Linked DNA regions of Homo sapiens: region 2 is linked to region 1. The links are contacts of gene promoters, found by promoter capture Hi-C in blood cells and fetal thymus (Javierre and others, 2016). All regions are on one chromosome and are shown on one strand. Each heading gives the region's core, a stretch centred on a gene start or on the middle of the fragment in contact. The rest is flanking DNA. Distances are from core to core; before and after follow the strand shown. Region 1 overlaps RABGAP1L (RAB GTPase activating protein 1 like). Region 2 holds the start of GAS5 (growth arrest specific 5).

What was found. Contacts are between HindIII fragments. The CHiCAGO score rates a contact against its expected background, and 5 or more counts as called.
Region 2: the fragment with the promoter of GAS5 here is called in contact with a fragment that was not itself captured in region 1 in 1 of 17 cell types (neutrophils); the score reaches 11.7 in neutrophils.

The regions. Positions count from the first base shown.
Region 1 is chr1:174,739,857-174,745,204 of GRCh38, reverse strand. The region is part of intron 17 of RABGAP1L (RAB GTPase activating protein 1 like); the gene reads right to left. Among named protein-coding and RNA genes, the nearest start is that of RABGAP1L-AS1, 210 kb to the left of the region's middle. The HindIII fragment of the contact is 3,092 bases long and covers 1,822-4,913 here.
Region 2 is chr1:173,865,532-173,870,879 of GRCh38, reverse strand. GAS5 (growth arrest specific 5) reads left to right here and starts at 2,891. Exons shown (of 12, transcript NR_002578.4): 1 at 2,891-2,920; 2 at 3,837-3,889; 3 at 4,084-4,119; 4 at 4,313-4,352; 5 at 4,674-4,703; 6 at 4,986-5,023; 7 at 5,333-5,348. ZBTB37 (zinc finger and BTB domain containing 37) reads right to left here and starts at 2,500. Exons shown (of 5, transcript NM_001122770.3): 1 at 2,475-2,500; 2 at 1,760-1,955; 3 at 1-680. The coding sequence starts at 654. SNORD75 (small nucleolar RNA, C/D box 75) reads left to right here and starts at 3,942; the gene lies at 3,942-4,001. It overlaps SNORD74 (small nucleolar RNA, C/D box 74), which reads left to right and starts at 3,135; the gene lies at 3,135-3,206. It also overlaps SNORD78, SNORD44, SNORA103, SNORD77 and SNORD76. RefSeq lists enhancers at 608-707, 1,222-2,421 and a silencer at 2,056-2,465. The HindIII fragment of the contact is 5,638 bases long and covers 1,210-5,348 here.

The DNA of each region.
Region 1 (5,348 bases), core at 2,118-4,617:
CAATCAAAAGAAGGCCTGGAGAACCAGATTTCATCAGTAAAGAAGAAAGACCAAGAATCACCAAAGTGGTAGATATGTGAGTAAAGAAGTCATCTGGAAGTGAATCAGGTGGTCCAGCTGATGCCAAGTGGATCAGAGATGAACCACACAGTTGAATTCCAAAATTTCTGACTCATGAGATTGTAAGAAAATAAATGATTGGTTTTAATTACTTTTTTTCACTTGGAAATAATTTCGGATTTAGAAAAACTTTGCAAAAACAGTACCAAGAAGTCCTACATATCCTTCACTCAGTTTTACCCAAACATTAACATCTTACATAACCATAGTATAATGATCAAAACCAAGAAACTATTATTTTTATCAAATGCTCCACTAATGCCCTTTTTCTGGTCCAGGATGCAATTCTGGATTATATATTGAATTTGGTTGTCATGTCTCCTTAGTCTCCTTTCATATGGGACCGTTTTCAGTGTTTATTTTTCATGACCTTGATGCTTTGGAAGAGTATTGGCCAGTTATTTTATAAAATGTCCCTCAACTCGATATGTCTACTGGTTCCTTATGATTAAATTCAGAATATGTATTTTGGGCACAAATACCACAGAAGTGATGCTGTGCCCTTCTCAGTGCATTCTATCAGGAGGTTACATAACATCACTATATGTCTCACTATAAAAATCATTGTCCTTTTAAAGCCACTCAGTTTTCGTATAGCTTGTTATATATTACAGGTAATCAAAAGAAAATCCATTTGGCTTCTCTGATAAATTTCTTGCTGCTATGATCTATAAAGCAATGCATTGTTTCAAAGAAAGTAGTGAAAGTGACAGATAATTAACACGCAAAAAGAAATAAGTTAATACTAGCTGCTCTTAAATACAGGTTCTACAGCAAGAATATTTAGAATATTAGCCAAAAATTCTTTTACTTTATTCTGCTTCTCATGTTTTAATCTCTTTGAAAGTTTAATATTTTAGGTTGGCTAATGGTGCTTGATGGAGTAACTAAATAAAAGAATGTGATGTTTGGGTTTTGTTCTGAATGTCCACTAGAGGTCAGGATTGCAGCACTGAAAATCAATCGCTTTTTTTTTTTTTTTTTTTTTTTTTTTACGTATTTCACAGACCAACATAGTAGCCTTGTATACAAATTGAGACATGCTGTTTTAAAACCCTTATGGCTAAGTCCTCCCTTATTTTTACTATTAATTTACTAACATATACCAAAAAAAAAGGATGACTCCCACCCTTCCTTTCCTCTAGCTTAATTATATATTTTCCATTTTATTATAGTTATTTGTTATACAGTTTTTTCATAAATGACTAGTGAATGAGAAAGAGTTCAAGAATGGGTAGGGATGAGAGATAAGTTTAACATGAATGCATCTGTTTAGTCATGAGTAATTTTAAAATATTTTCTTGGTTTACACTTGTTTGTACAGATTAAGTAGTAAAATATCTACAAAATCTAGAAGTCTTTATCATAGGTGACTCTGAGAAGAATTTTTTTTAAAAAAACATAGTTTTGCTATTATTTATTTATTTATTCATTTATTTTAAACTTTTATTTTAGGTTCAAAGGTATATGTTCAGGTTTGTTATGCAGGTAAACTTGTGACATAGGGGGTTTGTTGAACAAGGAAAGAAATTTTTAGAGGTTTGTGACATCTGAATTAGATAAAACTTTCAGAAACAAGGCAGGCAAAATGAGATAAGGAAATCAAATTAGAGGTTTTAACATGTGTTTCAAACTGACCCAATAGTTCAATAGATAGTTTTTTGGATAAACATAGAAATTGACGTTTTTGGTCTTGAAGCTTGAACCTTAACATTTGTTTTATCGGATTCCTTACTCAACAAAGGACCTTCAGGTCTCTCAAAAAAAAGTATGGAAGAACTGGAACTCACCAGATCACCATATCCAGATAATGAGATGAGGGCCCCTCATTCACCATAATTGCTTCCTTACCCCTCTCTAGTTCCTGTTTCTTACATATTGCTATATCTCTTCCCTGCTATATAAGTCCCTAGTTTCAGTTTGTCAGGGAGATGGATTTGAGACTGAGCTCCCATCTCATCTCGTCTGCTGCAGCCCCCAATTAAAGCCTTCTTCCTTGGCAATAATCATCATCTTAGTCATTGGCTTTCTGTGCTGTGAGCAGCAGGACCTAGACTGAACCCCTGGTGTTGTGGTAACATATTCATCATATGTCAAGCATTTTGAGGACATTTACAAAGATGGATAAGTCATCCCTACACTCAGAGGACTCCCAGATTAGGATAGCAGATAAAAATATAAACAGATAACACACCACCTAGGGAATGATAGGGAGGTATGACCTGAACATTAGAGCACTGAAGTATTGCTATAAAGTCCCTAAACACATGTTCCATTGGCCATTGAATACTGGCATTCACCTTTCTGTTCTTCTCAAATTCTCTTAAGTCATGATACACATCGGATTATATTGTTTTACAGTTATAGTTATCAGTCAACCATCCCAGGCTGCAGGGGTGCTTTTGATACTCTTCATAATGATACAGGACTTCTTATCAGCTACTATTAGCTGATCTTGACCTTCTCCTTCCTCCAGGCTTCTGCCAGTTTTCCATTAACCCAATCCATCCAGAAATCTTTTGTTAGAGTTCTTGTGCTCATACCACTTTTCTTTCTTCCTTTTTCTTTGAAATGAAGTCTTGCTCTGTCGCTTAGGCTGGAGTGCAGTGGCGCGATCTCAGCTCACTGCAACCTCCGCCTCCTGGGCTTAAGCAAATCTCCTGCCTCAGCCTCCCGAGTAGCTGGGATTACAGGTGTGCGCCACTACACTCAACTAATTTTTGTATTTTTAGTAGAGATGGGTTTCACCACATTAGTTAGGCTGGTCTCGAACTCCTGACCTCAAGTGATCCACCTGCCTTGGCCTCCTAAAGTGCTGGGATTACAAGCTGAGCCACCGCATCTGGCCCCCTTTTCTTTCTTCTTCTTCTTTCCTCCTCCTCCCCCTCCCCCTCCTCCTCTTCTTCTTCTTTCCTCCTCCTCCCCCTCCCTCTCCTCTTCCTCTTCTTCTTTCTTCCTCCTCCCCCTCCCCCTCCTCCTCTTCTTCTTCTTTCCTCCTCCTCCCCCCTCCCCCTCCTCTTCCTCTTCTTCTTCTTCTTTTTTTTTTGAGACAGGGTCTTGCTCTGTCACCCAGGCTGGAGCATAGTAGTGCTATCATGGCTCACCACAGCCTCAACCTTCCAGGCTCAAGCAATCCTCCCACCTCAGCCTCCCAAGTAGCTGGGTCTATAGGCGCATGCCACCATGCCTGGCTAATTTTTCTACTTTTTTTTTTTTTTTTTTTTTTTTTGTAGAAATAGGCTTTTGCCATGTTGCCCAGGCTGGTCTCAAACTCCCCACTTAAAAAAAAAATCCTTAAAAATGCCACAACATGGTATAAAAGTAGCCACATAGACCAGTAGAACAAAACAGAGAACTCAGAAATAAAGACACATAGTTACAGCCAACTGATCTTCAACAAAGCCAACAAGAATTTATACTGGGGGCCGGGTACAGTGGCTCACACCTGTAATCCCAACACTTTGGAAGGCTGAGGCAGGAGGATTGCTTGAACCCAGGAGTTCAAAACCAGCCTAGGCAACAGAGTGAGACCCCATCTCTACAAAAAATAAAACACCAGTCAGGTGTGGCAGCAAATGCCTGTAGTCTGAGCTACTTGGGAGGGTGAGGCAGGGGGATCATCTGGGCCCATGAGGTTGAGGCCACAGTGAGCAGTGATCATGCCACTGCACTCCAGCCTGGGTGACAAGGCAAGACTCTGTCTCAAAAAAACACAAAAACAAACAACAAAAACTTACACTGGGGAAAGGACAATCTCTTCAATAAACGGTGCTGGGAAAATTGTATAGCCATGCAGAAGAATGTAACTGGACCATTATCTCACCATATACAAAAATGAACTCAAAGTAGATTAAAGACTTAAAAGTAAAACCTGATACTATAGAAATATTAGAAGAAAAAATCTAGGGAACCCTCTCCTGGTTGTTGGTTTAGGCAAAGAATTTGTTACAAAGGCCTCAAAAGATCAGGCAACAAAACCAAAAATAAGTGATTGGGAATTAATTAAACTAAAAAGCTCCCACACACAAAAAAAAAAAAACAAAACAAAAAAATCAACAGAGTGAAGAGACAACCTGCAGAATGGGATAAAATATTTGCAAATTATTTATCCAACAGGAACTAATATATAGAACAGATAAGGAACTCAACTCAACAGGAAAAAAACAAATAATCCCATTCATACTTGGGCAAAGTATATGAATAGCCATTTCTCAAAAAAATAAATACAAACAGCCAACAGGTATATGAAAAAATGTTCAACCTCATGAATCATCAGAGAAATGCAAATCAAAACCACAATGAGATAGCATACCTCAGCCAGAATCCCTATTATTAAAAAAGACAGATGTTGACAAGAAAGTGGAGAAAAGGGAACTCATATACACTGTTGGTGGGAATGTAAACTAGTACAGCCACTATGGAAAACAGTATGGAGATTTCTCAAAAAAATAAAAATATAATTACCATTTGATCCAGCAATGCCACTACTGGGAATCGACTCAAAGAAAAAGAAGTCAATATATCAAAGAACTCACATATATACAGTTAGGAGGCTTTAAAACACTCAAGAAGTGGTATGTAATTTTGCCTGGAAACAGCTGATGAATTGAGCAAGAGGCTGTACCGAGACTGACACACCAGGAAATGCTATGCATAGTAAACTTTCATCCCTCCAAGGGGTGAAGTCCTAGGTTTATATCATGTTGGGAAACCAGTAATGAGTGTATTCATCTTTGGGGACCCTTTCTCTTCTGTCCTCATCCATTTATATATAGGTAAATGTTAGTGAAGCTTAAACACTAGGGAAAGCAGAGACAGAAGTGATTTAAGAGAATAACATTGAAAAAGAGTACACAAGAGAGGGTTTGTAAAGTTATATAAACGACTCCACTGCTACCAACCATGTCTCTATGAAGATGTAAGAAGGATGTTACTAATTATAGGAACTCACAATTTTAAAAAATCACCAGCAGGAGCAACTCCACCCTTTCCTCTACCTTTTCCCCCTATCACCTAGAGACACTAGCAGCCTGGTACACATAAAAATACAGAGTGAACTTTAAGAATCATAATAATATACCCTGAGGATCGCTAAGGAGCCTAAGTTTCTTTCTGCCACAGGGGATCTAGCATCTTTCTGCCAAGAAGTACAAAAGACTAAACATACCACTTCACAGTAGTATATTGCGTAGTAAATCTTAATTGCTATGCCACCATCTGTATAACAC
Region 2 (5,348 bases), core at 1,642-4,141, 870 kb after region 1:
TCCTGCTCGGTTGATCCGAAGAATGGGCTCCCGGCTCTCTACATCAGAACTTGGTTCAATGATCTGAGGGCTGGTGGACTCCTCAGGAGGACTTAGCTCTCTGATATCCAGCACAGCACTAACCTGACCTCGCCGGTTTCCCTTTGGGGTATTATGTCGTGGGCTAAGGGAGCGGTTGAGATTTGGTGTAACCCTGTGAGACTCTGGAGGTCTCTCTTGATGCTTTGTCCTTGTTTGACTTAATTCTGCTTCAACCTCAGCCACATTAATTTTGAAATGAATGCCCTCCAGGATCTGTGTACATTTGTCTATAATATGCTGCATTTGCAGAAAACTGGCAGCTGTTAGGTAGCTGATGATATCTGCCAGTTGCAGGCATATCCGCCCTGTGTAACAGAAAGAAAGGAGCTGTTCAAAAACAGTAGGGTTCTTGATGACTGAAATGGAGACTGTACTCATCTCATTCAAGGACATGTGATCCCGGAAATAGGGGGAGCTGGCAGCCAGCACCACTTTGTGAGCCCGAAAAGCTTGTCCTTGCACATTGACCACAATATCACAGAGACGGCCCTGCATGCGCAACTGGTTTAGATGGCTCAGGACAGAGTTGCTGAAGTCAGGAATCTCCAATTGTATGTTCCCACCTTTCTCCATGGTCGTGCCTGAGGGTGCATTCAACCCTGCTGAAAAAAGAAACCATATTCTCATTAATAATTATAATTTTACTTCCCGGATGGTTTCCATTTCAAAAGTATTTAAACATAGTTATCTGGTAAAGTTTCAAAATCTCCAGATAAAAGAAATACCTTCCTTATATTTAGATGTGGAAACAGAATCACCAACAGGTTTTTCAGTTTAAGTTTCACAGGAGGACATAGTTAAAACTAAAAAGTGATCTTTAGACTCCTAAAAATTCATGTTATGACCATGCTTTCCTTACTAATAAGTTATATAACATCAAAACAGAAGTTCAACAGAAGGTAGGGGGAAGGACTTTTAAGTGTTAACTATAAGGTACTTGCAGACTGAATATAACATCTCATAACTTTACAACTTTTCTCTGGAGGAGGAAAGCTTTCTGAATAAATGCAATTCTACATAGCTTGATATCCCTCTTCTTAGTATTTTACTACCTGCTGCAAGAATTATGTTTATTATTTTATAAAAGGACTAATATCCCACATGAATGTAGGCTAATATTTCTAAGCTTAAGAATCAGAGCCCCCCCCACAAAAAGACTTTGGTTATAGGGCTGTGAAGCAAACTCTAGGAAAAATCCCACAGCTGTGCCAGGATTCAACCAAGATGCAGAGAATGTGAAGTTCAGTTGTCAAAATTAGGAAAGCTGGGTAAATCTGCCAAATTCGAAGTTGGCAATTCCGAGGTGGTGATGAATACTTCCATCCTGAAACTTAGTTCTCCAGATCCGATGAAAAAATACAGCATTTACCAAGTATGCCAACATTTTTCCATTAAAATATTTTTAAAAAATGGCTGAAACACTAAACCTGAAGCTGTATACAAGATAGTTGAAAGTACAGTTTCAACTACTGAAAATAGTTTGTATAAATCCGAACAGGAAGACATTTACTTAAGCCCAATGTGCGTTCACTTATCTATATATTACATAGTTACACCACACCTGAAACTTCAGGAACTTACTCTGCCAAGCTCACAGTACTGCCCCGCATTAACAACACACTTATTAAATAGGGAAGTGTATACACTGTTTTCAACAATCAACTTTAGCCAATCTGACCTTTTTCCAAAGCGTTATTGTTTGTTTTGAAACTTTTAATCCAATAAGAGCCTCTGTCGATGCCATCATGAATTCAGATGTGTTTATTTTGGAGCCTACACCAGCGCCTTTTTTGTTTGCTCTTTCCGGCAATTCCCCAGTGAGGAAGCCCCTGGAGGAAAGTCTTTCGCTACCGTCGGCACTGGAGGGGTGAGAGCTGTAAAAGGGAGAATTGGGAACGGCATGGGGTTGGCCACTCCAGCACTTGAGCAGCTTTCTTCTGCGTTAGGAAGCCTGGGGAGAGGGGAACTGGCTAAAGGGCAAAATGTCACTGAGGAACTTCGGAGAAGATGGGGACAAGGCGTCGGGCGGGGGAGCCAGCGCTCAGGTGAGAACTAGGAAGGGGGCGGCGCCCAGGGACCGGCTCCAGGCGGCGGCGGGCGGGGAGCTGCCAGGAGGTGGGTGTGCGTATCTGGGTGTGTCCCGGCTGCGGTGGGGGAGGGGGCCGCCCTTCCCGGGGTCCTGAGGGAGGGGCCCCGCGAGGGGGCGGGTCCGGCAGATCAGCCCGGCCGGGGGCCAAGGGGGTGGAAGGTCGCCCGGTGCCTGGAGGCGGGGTGAAGGAAAGTAGCTGAGCGCCCCAGGAGCGCGCTGCGGCGGAGGGCGGGCGAGGTGACCCCGGTGCAGGGAAGTGGCACTGGGGTGTGGGGCCCGAGTCCAGTCAAGGAGCAGCACCTACCTCCGGGGGTGGAAATGGGCCGGAATGGGCCGGAACACCGTCCCGGAAGTGAAATCCCCCACCCCCTCCCACGGAGCGGGCGACGTGCCGGAAGGAAATCACTCAGCCTTACACCGCCCCCCCTTCCCCCATCCCCAGAGCTTTCCTTGCCTCGCGCCCCCTCCCCTCTCTGCTCTTCCTCCTCAGTCGGGAGGAGGGCGGGAGCACGGCATCACGTGGACGGTCATGTCTCTGCCCACAATGGCGAGGAAGGGCGGGGAAAAGGGGCGGACTTAAGGGGTGGGAAGAAGGTGATACTGGATGAGAGGAAGATTGAGGGAGGTTAGGGGGAGGAGCCGAAGCGGACGCTGCCGGGAGCGTGCGTCGTGACGTCATCAAAAGAACTCTTATATACAGGAGCCCAGGCACCATACTGTCTTTTCGAGGTAGGAGTCGACTCCTGTGAGGTATGTTTTATCTTTGCGAATGTTGCGGGTTTTGGGGCGCTCCAGCCTTTGTCTGCTAAGGTCACCCTGAATTGACTGGGACTTCTAAGCCAGTCGCGCGCCTTTGCAGGGCCTACAAGTTGAGGATGGTGGGGGATTGCACATATGGTGCATGCGTGACCTAAGCTGCGACTATGTTAGAGTAGAACTGCGGAGAAGCCTCGGCTCTCGTGCCCTGCCTCTGATGAAGCCTGTGTTGGTAGGGACATCTGAGAGTAATGATGAATGCCAACCGCTCTGATGGTGGCACATGCCGAGTCACCCGAGTAAGCTATTGTTAAGGGCCGTGACCCGAGCCTCCATCAGCCGTCCGCTCTCATGAAAGGCTGTCGGTGGTAGTCCACGTGCTTAAGTGCCTGCATTCCGCAGTGTCACCAATATTTCCATTAGTGTTTCTTTTTTCTTTTTTGAGACCGAGCCTCGTTCTGTCACCCAGGCTGGAATGCAGTGGCTCGACATCGGTTAATGGCAACCTCCGCGTCCCGAGTTAAGCAGTTCTGCCTCAGCCTCCCAAGTAACTGGGACTACAGGCGCGCGCCACCATGCTAGGCTTTTATATTTTTAGTAGAGACGGGGTTTCACCATGTTGGCGAGACTGGTCTTGAACTCCTGACCTCAGGTGATCCACCAGCCGTGGTCCCCCAACATACTGGGATTACAAGCCGTGAGCCACCGCGCCCGGCCGCCATCGGTGGTTCTTAACTGCGGGTGCAGTGCTTCTTTGTAACATTAAGTGTATCCTTTACCTGTCGCTAGATAATGAATGGTATGTTACCTGCATCATTGGTTTAAAAAGACGAACCGTTTTTTTAAAGAACACTCTTTAAAAAAAAGAACCGTGGAACAATGAATTAAAATCTGTACCTGATCTCTTTAGGTATGGTGCTGGGTGCAGATGCAGTGTGGCTCTGGATAGCACCTTATGGACAGGTAAGAATTGGGGAAAGTATGGTGGGAAGAATGAAATCTAAGAGGTGGTCTCAGCCTGTGATGCTTTAAGAGTAGTGGACAGAAGGGATTTCTGAAATTCTATTCTGAGGCTTTAATGTTAACAGCATTTATATTTAACGTGACTGCTGTGAGGTTCATTCTCACTGTTTTGCTTGCATCTTTTTGTTTTCTAGTTGTGTCCCCAAGGAAGGATGAGAATAGCTACTGAAGTAAGTTGAAAATTCCCTCTCAAAAAGGTTTAAAGCCATTGGATGTGCCACAATGATGACAGTTTATTTGCTACTCTTGAGTGCTAGAATGATGAGGATCTTAACCACCATTATCTTAACTGAGGCACCCAAAATGGTGAGTTGGGGAACATAGAGAGTACACCTAAGTTCACATGAAGTTGTTTCTTCCCAGGTCCTAAAGAGCAAGCCTAACTCAAGCCATTGGCACACAGGTGAGACACCTCTATTTTGTACTTCTCACTTTTAAGGGATTAGAAAATAGCCAAAGCAATGATGATTATCTATGTTAGTGCTTCTCTCCCCTCTTTTCAAATGAGAATTTTGCTCTCATATTGATACTAAGTTTAATACTGAAGAAAATGTGAAAACAGATACTATGATGGTTGCATAGTTCAGCAGATTTAATCATGAAGAGATGTACTATCTGTCTGATGTATCTGGGGTAGTTGTGGTTTGCTGTTAATGGTTAAGCAGTGTACCACCAATCTACCATTAAAATATTTTTTGCTGACAATTTTGTATTAAAATTACAGGCATTAGACAGAAAGCTGGAAGTTGAAATGGTAAGTGAAACTGTATCCAAGTAAGCAGGTAACTGGGCAAACTTCCTACGGCACAAATGGCTTTTTAGTTACCTCCTAGTGCTGAATGCATTAAATAAATGGCGGATTCTTGTCTTGTTATGATTAATAAGAAAGTTTGTAAATGCAGCCTGGATGATGATAAGCAAATGCTGACTGAACATGAAGGTCTTAATTAGCTCTAACTGACTAAAGGCATTTGTTAGTTTTGGCAGGGGGTGAACACTCATCTGTGGCTATTCTAAGACCACTCTTATTTCTTAGGTGGAGTCCAACTTGCCTGGACCAGCTTAATGGTTCTGGTAAGTATTAATGAAAACAGTAGATAGACTTAATGAAAATGCTGATGGTGATATGCTTACTGCTGAGCTAATGGCTTAAGGCTTGGCTGATGAATACTGACTGTATTTTCCTTGAGCATGTCTGGAACAGTGTTTATGTGTTTTCCTTGAGCATGTTTGGAACGGGGTTTGTGTAATGATGTTGATCAAATGTCTGACCTGAAATGAGCATGTAGACAAAGGTAACACTGAAGAACCCTGTGACAGACAACTTTGAAAAGAGTTTAATGATGTTTAGCATTTTAATGGAAGTCCTCATTTGTATTCCAGCTCCTGGTAACGTTTT